Linked DNA regions of Homo sapiens: regions 2 and 3 are each linked to region 1. The links are contacts of gene promoters, found by promoter capture Hi-C in human tissues and cell types (Jung and others, 2019). All regions are on one chromosome and are shown on one strand. The core of a region is centred on a gene start or on the middle of the fragment in contact, and the rest is flanking DNA. Distances in the headings are between cores, read along the strand shown.

Region 1 (3,644 bases), core at 932-3,431:
GAAAAAAACAAAAAACTGAAAACTCTGACTGTAAAAACATGTAACTGGTTCTGACTGTACATGCAACACATCCAGTTACATGTGTTTTTACAGTCAGAGTTGCTAAGTCCTGGATTTCTTCTTCTTCTAATTTTTTTTTTTTTTTTTTTTTTTTGAGAGGGAGTCTCACTCTTTCACCCAGGTTGGAGTGCAGTGGCACAATCTTGGCTTACTGCAACCTCGGCCTCCTGGGTTCAAGCGATTCTCCTGCCTCATCCTCCCGAGTAGATGAGATTACAAATGTGTGCCACCAAGCCCGGCTCATTTTTGTATTTTAGTAGAGACAGGGTTTTACCATGTTGGTCAGGCTGGTCCTCAATGATCCTCTTGTTGGTCAGGCTCCTGACCTCAAATGATCCACCCGCATTGGCCCCCCCAAAGTGCTGAGATTACAAGTGCCAGCCACCACACCCGGCCCCTGGATTTCTTAACTATGTATTCGGTTAAGATTTCTTAACTATGAATACATAGTATTATGTATGTATTCATAGTTAAGAAATCCAGGACTTAGCAAAGCCCAGTTTTTCTAGGGACTGTCTTCCTTCCATGGCTATGAGAAAGGGTGCATTACAGTGTGTCTGATGAACTGAAGACCATTTCCATGGCCACACGGACCTAAGCATTTAGGTTATTTCATACTTCCCTTCTCTGTGTGGCAGGGGAAGCCAACTTAAGCCGTTATATACGATAGTTGGAATGATCTTTTTAGAACTATCTGCCCTTCTCCAGTGGTCAAGGACAAGCCTTAGCCAAAACAAGTGATGGGAAAGACAAAGTCTGCAGGACAACCTACCGCTACTGAAAGTTCTACTTTGCAATAGGTCCTTCTTGGAGTACAAGGCATTTAACAACTTTACCCTCCAACAGGGAGGAGTCATTCAGCTCGTAGGCTGAGGGATCCTGCCCGCATCAGCACACGTGGTCCAGAGCCCTAAGACTTCAGACGTAAGACCAGATATCAGCCCAGGATCCTGGTGAGAGAACTACCGGCGCCAAGGCCACAGAGTCCCAGGGGGGCTGCCCCCCAGCATTGAGAAGTGGAGTGTCCCAAAGCTGCCCTGGAAACGGCCTTGGGCCTTGTGGTTCTTGCACAACTCCCACCTCCCCCTACAGACAACTGACAGTCACCTTACTTCACCTTCCCCCCATGGAGAGCCCCGGTTTAGGACCGAACATTAAAGCTTAGGGACTGTCTGTGGTGGGTGGAGCTCCAGAGTACAGGGTAGGAGGATGACTGTGCAGGAGGATTAAAGTTCAGGACGGGGTGGTGGCGGATGGAGTTCCAGGTGTGGAGGCTCAGAGTCCAGATGACCCAAAGGGTTTAGGACGGAGGGAGGATGGAGTTTGGGACTAAGAGGCTCATGAAGTTCAGATCTGTGGTGGGGGGAGGAGTCGGTTAAGTCCAGGATAAGGGAGTCTGGGTGCTAGGGGATAGATTTTGGATCTGGGACTACTGGGGGCTGGAGTCAAACCAGGCTACATTTCGGGTCGGGGCACGGAGCCAAGGAGGGAGCTAGGGCAGGCTAAGGCTGGGCTCGGTGGCCCTGGCGAGGTCACGCACAGCTCTGGGAGTCGAAGCCGTCCCCAGTGATGGTGAGCAACTCCAGCTCCTTAATCCGGATCTCCAGCTCGCAGAGCTCCTCCGGGTGGGAGGCAGAGGCGAGCCTGGGGGTCGAGGGGCAGGGGACCAGGGGCGAGGCAACCACCTCAGGCCCCGGCGGCGGTGAGTAGAAGAAGCGCAGAGGCTCGTAGGGGATGGAGGCCAGGCCGGAGGGCCAGGGCGAGGGCCAGGGGCGCTCGCTGGAGGGACCCAGGCCGGGTGGTGGCGGGGGCGGGGGCGCCGGGGCGGGGAGCGCCTGGGACAGGGACCGGGCCCCCGCCGCCCCGCCCACTGGCGCCCCGCCCGCCTTCAGCGGCACGAAGAGCTTCTTCCAGATGTTGAAGTCGCTGAGCGGGGACGAGGAGATGCCGCGGTCGTACAGGGACGGGAAATAGAGGGGCGGAGCCGACCGCTGGCTCATGGTGGGGCTGTGGCTGCCGCGCCGCCCCTTTGGCATCGTTTGAATGAGGGTCTGCGTGGGAGGAACCCCGCGCCGGGAGACGCGCGCTCAGGCCCCGAGTCGCCGGGGTTTCGAGGTTCCACAAGCCCCGCCCCGATGGAGCGCGGCCCCACCCTTTCGCCTCAGCCCGGCCCCTAACAGGCGGGGTTCCAAAGCCCGGACGACCACGTCCCGGAACGCGGCCCCGCCCACCTCGGCTGGCCGCACCCCGCAGTTAGAAAGCCACGCCCCCTGGCTCGCCTCGCCTCGCCTCCCGTCCCTCGACTCCGCCCACCGCCTCGCTCTTGCTCTGCGACCCCGCTGGCTTCCGTTGTCATATCCCAGCATACCCTCATCCAGAACAGGCAGCGGGCCAGGGCTGCAGAAGAAAGCTTACTTCAGGCTTCCTCTCTTTCTCCCATGAGGGAGAAAAGTATTTCCTAGAAACCTGGCCCCTGCACCAGCAGACTTACCTCATTGCCTCACTGGCCGCGCCCACAGCAAAGAAGTCTGAGAAAATCAGTGTCTGATTTTTCATCCACTACTGTGGGAGGCAGACAAAGGAGAAGAGGATTGATTGGGAATGGCTGTTAGAGCCAACCTATGTATCTGCCAAACGTTAGCAGTGTTGAGGAAGATTCTAGAAAAGGGGATCCTCATCTGGTTTGTAATAGACCTGAAGGAGTGTTTTCAGTGAAATGCAGTTTAGTTCTCTTCCAAACACAGATATCACCAGGAGCTAACAGGCAACGAGCTAACCACCAAAAGGAAATCCTGTCCGCCCTACCTCAAATACTTCACCCATTGCTTATGAGCGATTTGGACATTTTGTCCAAAGGACATGACAGCTCATTTATGTGAGTAACCTGTATTAGCCATAGACTGAGGGGAAATAACTAATACATTTTCTTGAGAGCCTCTGCCTAATGATCACTGGTATGACTAGTGATGGGTGGAGGGCAGTTAAAGAGTCAGTATCAGCTTCACAAGTTAAATATATATATGCATATGTATCTGCACACACAGTGCAAAGTGTGTGTGTGTGTGTGTGTGTGTGTGTAGCAGCAAAGTGGAGAGAGTCAGATATTCAAGCTGGGTAGCCTTGGACAAGTTGCTTGACTTTTAAGTAGGTTTTCCATAAAATAGAAATAAGAAAACCAGGCTGCCTCATAGGGTTGTGATCAAACAGAAGACGGAACAGTGTGTGTGTGAAACACTTGAACTTGGACACTTTGTCCAAACACAAGAGGCAGCTGTCCCTACTAAGGGGCATGTCTGAAACTGGGAAGCTTTTTCTTCCCACACTGAGCTTCCCACACTTAGTTGTCACACGCAGTATTTGCTCTCTGACTTTGGCAGCCACCCATCATTGTTTATTCATACAAGTGATCACTAGGCTGAGGCTCTCAAGAAAATGTATTTCCCCTCAGTCTATGGCTAATACAGGCCATGTGCGATAGCTCAGCACCCAGCCTGTAATCCCAGCACTCTGGGAGTCTGAGGTGGGATCTCTTGAGGCCAAGAGTTTGAGAACAGCCAGGGGCAACATAGCGAGATTCTGTCTCT
Region 2 (3,281 bases), core at 551-3,050, 560 kb before region 1:
ATTCATGGATGCTACGTTGCAGCGTATCTTTAATACCTTTTGGGACAGGGATAGAGTTTTGAACCAAAATTATCCCCTATGATCCTAATGACTATAATACCCAATATTTTTAACAACTAAGTATTAGGTATTACATATTATTATGTTATTCCATGAATGTCTAGGAAATTTAGGTAAAACATTACTACCTCCCCCAAAAACTTCAAATTGTCTGATCCAATAGTCCTTTTTGTTTCACCATTAATTTTAGAATGTATATGCATTTTTTATCATAAACCTTTTTCCACAATTTCAGAATATATCATGACTCTTATTACACCAAAGAATAGAATATAAAGAAGCTGAGTTTAAAACGTAAGAGTCTTTGCAGGGTAAAGAAAATGACCATATATTTTCAATGTGTTTACTAATGACTGCAGAGATTAGTTTTGCTTTATAAAGCTGAGAAATACATAGGCAATCAGGTTGACTAGCACAAGATTTTGCTTGAAAATAAATGGCTACATTTCACATAAAAGAATTATCTAGAAATTATAAAGATTAGAAAACATACAGTTTTATTTAAAGAAATGTCATTATCTAAGTGACTACATCCTTTTGAAAGTAGTTGCTTTGGCTGAGAAAAAAAGTCCCAAGGGAAAAAATGTATAGACCATGTTAGTAGAAGTGACAGCATCTAAACATCTCTGTTATAGAATGGATAGGGAAAAGGGATGGAATCAGATAATTCAATAAAACCTAAAATAGTTTACTACTTATTATAGTCAACATGCAAATATTTCCTTTGCTTATCAAACAGTACTTTATTCAAAGCACTTTCAGATTATCACTCAGTTCTGTTTACAAGTACTTTTTTCTTGTAATACATCTCTATTCTACATTTATATATGCATCTAAGAAACTAGATAAAAAAGCATATTGAGTTTTAAAGTAAAAATCTGAATAATCACACAGACATGGACCAACATTTATTACAAACAGGAAAAGTGTAGATCTATAAGAAAAGAGTACAGATTTTTTTTGGTAAAAAGGCTGCAAGCTGAAGTATAGAAATCACCATAATCTATATAATGCAGTAATTGTATCTGCATTTTAAAATCACATTGCTCAACAGAAAGAAAACATTATAATACAGTAATTTAAATTGCTATGTAAAGGTATTAAAACAGTATCAACAGTGGAAAAGTTTATTTCAATTTAGGACACTCATGTTGCATCCTGAGTTCACTTCCATTTTCCAAGAAGAAAGGTCATTTTGAAAAACTGAAATGTATGCTACACAACCCATTATTTATAAGGAAGGAAAAACCAAGTATAGAGAAAAGAATTCATCTTTTGTAAAAATTTTAAATAAAACAATCAATTCTCTATATGCTTTTATTAAAGAAATACAGCTTTCACAGACAGCAAGATACATCGTTGCTATTACCAGCAGCATTACCTTCTTCATTTCTCCTTCAGCCACCAATAAAAAACATGCTTCAGTAAAAAAATTCCTTATGAATGTGGCCCGATTCAAAACAAATTACTTCTCTAACAATAAGATATTGTAGCTTACATGTTGTCACTCATCACCTAATTACATGAAAAGCTACAGAAACCACAGGCTGGGTGGGGCAGAACAATTTAAAAGAATATGTCAAAATTCTGTAGGTTTTCTCAATTTTGTGATTATTTAGTGACCTTTTTGATCATTGTAAAAAGTAGTTCTTTAAAGAGCACTGAGGCTCTGACTGGGGCATTCCACTTAACTCAAGTGTTTAAAACCTCTCATTTATTAAATCCAAAAATATACTAAACTGCATTTAAGATATCCTTATCCGATTAAATAGCTGGAGACATATTTAAATGTTTCCTTTATTTGAAACTAAGAAGTCACAAAAGTACTTTCATATCATAGTGATATTTAAACTTTATACTTGATAACTATCACTTTAAGAATAGTCATACAATTAATGACTTGCTCATCTTATAATAATACTGTTAAATCATGTGACCTAGCAGTTTTGGAATAAAGAGTAGAACAATGTATTTCAGGGAGTGGAGGCAAAATGTTATCTCCTATGTATTATATATAACACCAAAGTAATTTGGCCTAGTTTTTGAAATTATATATTAAGAATACACAGAAGTTTGTCCTAAATGCCATTCACTAGAGCAAGATAATTTTACCTCCAACAATTTCCACACTACAGCAAAAAAATGAAAGCATGTGACAAATTCAGAATGACATTTTAAATCCAAATTTTACATAGCTAAATAGATACTGCTCAACTCTCAGTTATGAGCAAATCTGATGCACTGGCTCATATAGCAGCATCATTAACCTTTTTTAAAAGTAATTAATATGCTCTCATTTCCAACTGATGTTTCAAATTTTTTTAAAAAGTTTAATACTTTTTTCCTTTGACATTTTGTACTTAAATAGGATTTGCAAGGAGTTTCTCTGGGGAAGCAAATTATCTTCCGTTACTAAAGATGTATGTATTTTCTATTAAAAAAAGGTATTTGGAGTCACACAAGTTGGCTTAGCAGAATATAAAGAAATGAACATTACAATTTTCCCACCATGAAGTACTGAGTTACAACAAATGTATTAACAAAACTTTATTTTCTTGAGTGCATACAGAATGTTATGTAAACACTTAAGTATTACTTTCAATGTAAAAACATTCTTATTATCACTTCGGATTTTTAAAAAGTATTATAAATAGGTTTGTGTCTTCTCCAGAAATATTAATGGCCACATTGAGTGATATGATCAAAGAAAACTTTAGCCTCTCACAGGCTAAACAAAAATATAGAATGTGAAAATAAAAAATAAACAGCAAACCAGGAAAGAGAAAAACACAGCTCAGGATATGCATTTCTAAAACCAGCATTCAATTTAAAACCTTAATTCCTAAACCAAAAATATAAATTTTAAAAAATATACATATATATTATTTACCATTTGTTCTTAATACATGTTATATATACCTATTTGTGCGCGTGTGTATGTTTGTGTGTGTGAAGTAACTGCAAATATTACCAACTAAATAAATCAGGCAACTGCTAGCAGCTCTTCATTTCATTATATGAATTGAGCCTGTTATGTAGACAACTTTCAGCCCCTTGGAATAACATCTGGTCTTCCTGAAACTTTTTTTTAGGATGCAGTTTGTAACTTACAGCTAGGAAATTGGAGAAACAAACCCATTGTGTTCAGAGTTACAGAATGGAGTATCTAACTGCCTATTTCAGTTTAACTTACGCTATAATAAAATGCATGAATAATGCCT
Region 3 (3,130 bases), core at 391-2,890, 730 kb before region 1:
ATGGTACAGTCTTCTAAGTAGTACTTCCTTGGTAGTACTTCCTGGAATTAAAAAAAGAAATCTTGTCTGTTAGTTATATGTTTATATGTGACTTGTGTAATATATACCTATAAATTGTCAGTTAAATATATAGCATCTTAATTCCATAAAATGGTCATATCTTTTCATGCATTCTCTGAATATTTGAACTTTTATTGCTTTCTACTCATGGGAAAATTGTATAGCTTCTAACCAGTTTCTTCCAATTCTAGAATCTAATCATCCTCATAAATAGTTTACTAAGTGTTAGTATTACATGAAAGGTCTGTATGTCAGTATATTTTATTTTCCAATAATTGGAAAGATGAACCAGATAAAAGTGGCATAAAGATTAAAATCATATACTTGTATCTTTTGTAAAAGATACATCATAGCAATTATTTTCTAATCAGTTAAAATTAGTATTAAACCAGTAAATGCACTGGGTTATACCAATTAATATTATTCCTTTTAGTTATTTGAGAAATCTCCATACTGTTTTCCATAGCAGTTGCACTAATTTACATTCTCACCAGCAGTCCCAGTACTGAGTATCTACATAAAGGAAAATAAATAATACCCAAGAGACACCTGCACATGTGTTTATTGCAGCACAGTTCACAACTGTAAAGATATGGAAAGTGCCCATCAGCCGATGAGTGAATAAAGAAAATATAGTGAATACTATTCAGCCATAAAAAAGAGCAAAATAATGTCTTTTGCAGCAACTTGGGTGGAACTGGAGGTCATTATTCTAACTGAAGTAACTCAGGAATGGAGAACCAAATATCACATGTTCTCACTTATAAGTGGGAGCTAAGCTATAGGTACACAAAGGCAGCGTGGTATAATGGACATTGGAGACTCAGAAGGGGAGAGGGTGAGAAAGGGGTAAGGGATGAAAAACTACTTATGGGGTACAATGTACACTACTTGGGTGATGGATGCACTAAAATCCCAGACTTCACCACTATACAGCTCATCCATGTAACCCAAACCACCTGTACCCCTAAAGCTATTGAAATTTTTAAAAAGTTTTTTTTAAAGAAGAAAATAAAAGGTACAGTAAGAATATGGCATTATAGTCTTATGGAACCACCATTGTATATGTGGTCTGTCATTGTCAAAAATGTCATTATGCAGTGCATGACTATATACTGTTTTATTATGTTCACATACTTAGACATATATTCTAATTTAACCTTAAAACAACTTAGACAGCCATTTTGTGGATTAAGACAGGTTCAGAGAGGTTAAGTGACTTGCTTAAGGGCCCACAAACTTGAAACTGGCAGAGAAAGGATTAAAATTAAAGTCTTCTAATTTCTGGTCTAGTGCTTTTCTTACCACCTAATCAGAGACAGTAACCTGTATATCAGTCATTTTCAAGTAATTAGGAGCTGGAAGGGACTTTAGATATTACCTAGTCTGAAACATTTATTTTGTAAACTAAAGTTCAAAAGAGATTAAAGTTAAAGAACAGGTTAGAGGTTGAAGAACCATGATTAAAACTCAGCTAATCCCAGGTCAGCATTTTTGCTATTAAATGTTATATTCCTTGCATCATAAAATATGCTTCTCTTTGTAGTAGTCATTTCTGTATAGTTGTATTTTGAAAGATTTTTAAAAATTGCTTATCAGTGTTTTCTGATTTTTCTCTAAGGGGAGAAAATTTTTTAAGATTATTTTTAAATCACAAATGTTTAAAACTTACTTTTGTAGAATGTAAATACAGTATTAGAACAGATTGAATCACTAATAGAAAGACTATGTAAACAATCATTTTACTTAGCTGTGAAACTTGTGACCTGGATTCTGGGTTGTTGTTTTTTTTCAGAAGGTTATTAGAGGCAGTTAGTATTATAAAATATAATAAAGTACTATGCTGGTAAATTAAGAAAGAATCTAATAATCTAAAATGTTTAATGCTACACCAAAACTAATTATATTCTAAAAGTACTTTTCTTAATGGAGCTTAAAGTTCAGAGTGGTGACACTGAAAGCCAAAAGCTTTGAATAGGAATCTTTGTCATAATTTTACTCTCCCCTCTTTTTCTAAAATAACTATTTTGATTCATATTTTTGGTACTGGGTTTTGATCATTTTTCTTCCCCTACTTTTTCTTTGCTTCAAGTTAAAGTGACTTAATATCCCTTGGTCATACTCAGTGTTTTGTTAGATCAGTTTGTATTTTGTAATTGTTCAGATTGTTCAGAGGGTAAATGAGGTCTGGAGGAATTAGGCAGCTTGCCTATTCGTCACATAGCTGCCACATATCAGTTCTATTCAGTTAAAATCCAGTTCTAGTTTATCCAGCAGTTGTAGTTCAGCTAAAACTTAGAACTTTGGATCCTCATGTAGTGCTCATCCCATCATCATACTGAGCTGCCTCTTTCTCACTTGCTACTATAAACCTACTTTTCAAGTTAACCTTTGTTCAGAAAGCTTCATGTCCAATTTTTTTGCAATCAGTATTTTACATATGCCAATGAATTTAGTGTATTTTAATATATAAATGTTTTGAGAAAAAGTTGGATTTTTTTCAAAAATATTTATTGATAGTTTATCCTGTTAAATTATAATGTTGTTTCAGATGAGCTACTTTTACCTCATATGAAAAAAATAGATGGCATGCTAAATGATAACCGAAAGAGACTTCTTTTGAATCTTCATTTGGATCAATCATTCAAGGTATTTCCTTCTGATGACTTATTAGCAAAACTCAATGGCAGTCATAGTCTTAAGTATAATAGGAAGGAAATTTATGAAAATTATTCACTTACAACATTTTTCACCTAATGAAAATTTGGCTTTTATTCATTGTAAGTCCATTTAGTTTGTCTGCTTAGTGTTAATCACTTGCTTTTCTCCACTTAAATTTATTTTTTAGGCATTTATAGTTATCTATTATATCTTCTATAAAATAATTTCCAAATGTTCTTTTAACGCTTTTCAAAATTTTTACATTTTGTCTGTAATTAAAATTAGCTTTTCCTTAGCACAGTTATCAAAATTCACCGTACTTGCCTCATTTATTCAATATCAGAGGAAACGCTGATTTTTATAAGGGTAGGAAATGTATATAATTCTATATGTTAATATATCTTGGCAA

What was found. The method cuts DNA at HindIII sites, captures the fragments that hold promoters and counts their contacts. A contact is called where the count stands out against the background at its distance.
Region 2: a fragment that was not itself captured here is called in contact with the fragment with the promoter of C11orf91 in region 1 in 1 of the 25 tissues and cell types used here (lymphoblastoid cells).
Region 3: a contact is called between a fragment that was not itself captured here and the fragment with the promoter of C11orf91 in region 1, in 1 of the 25 tissues and cell types used here (lymphoblastoid cells).

The regions. Positions count from the first base shown.
Region 1 is chr11:33,698,645-33,702,288 of GRCh38, forward strand. It overlaps C11orf91 (chromosome 11 open reading frame 91), which reads right to left and starts at 2,182. Exons shown (of 2, transcript NM_001166692.2): 1 at 1,601-2,182. The coding sequence starts at 2,096. RefSeq lists silencers at 1,848-1,937, 2,118-2,357. The HindIII fragment of the contact is 4,290 bases long and covers 1-2,918 here.
Region 2 is chr11:33,136,755-33,140,035 of GRCh38, forward strand. All of the region lies in intron 3 of CSTF3 (cleavage stimulation factor subunit 3), which reads right to left. Among named protein-coding and RNA genes, the nearest start is that of CSTF3, 23 kb to the right of the region's middle. The HindIII fragment of the contact is 8,496 bases long and covers 1-3,281 here.
Region 3 is chr11:32,966,435-32,969,564 of GRCh38, forward strand. QSER1 (glutamine and serine rich 1) reads left to right here. Exons shown (of 13, transcript NM_001076786.3): 9 at 1-3; 10 at 2,612-2,709. The region is part of intron 2 of LOC105376615 (a long non-coding RNA gene); the gene reads right to left. Among named protein-coding and RNA genes, the nearest start is that of DEPDC7, 48 kb to the right of the region's middle. The HindIII fragment of the contact is 4,122 bases long and covers 1-3,130 here.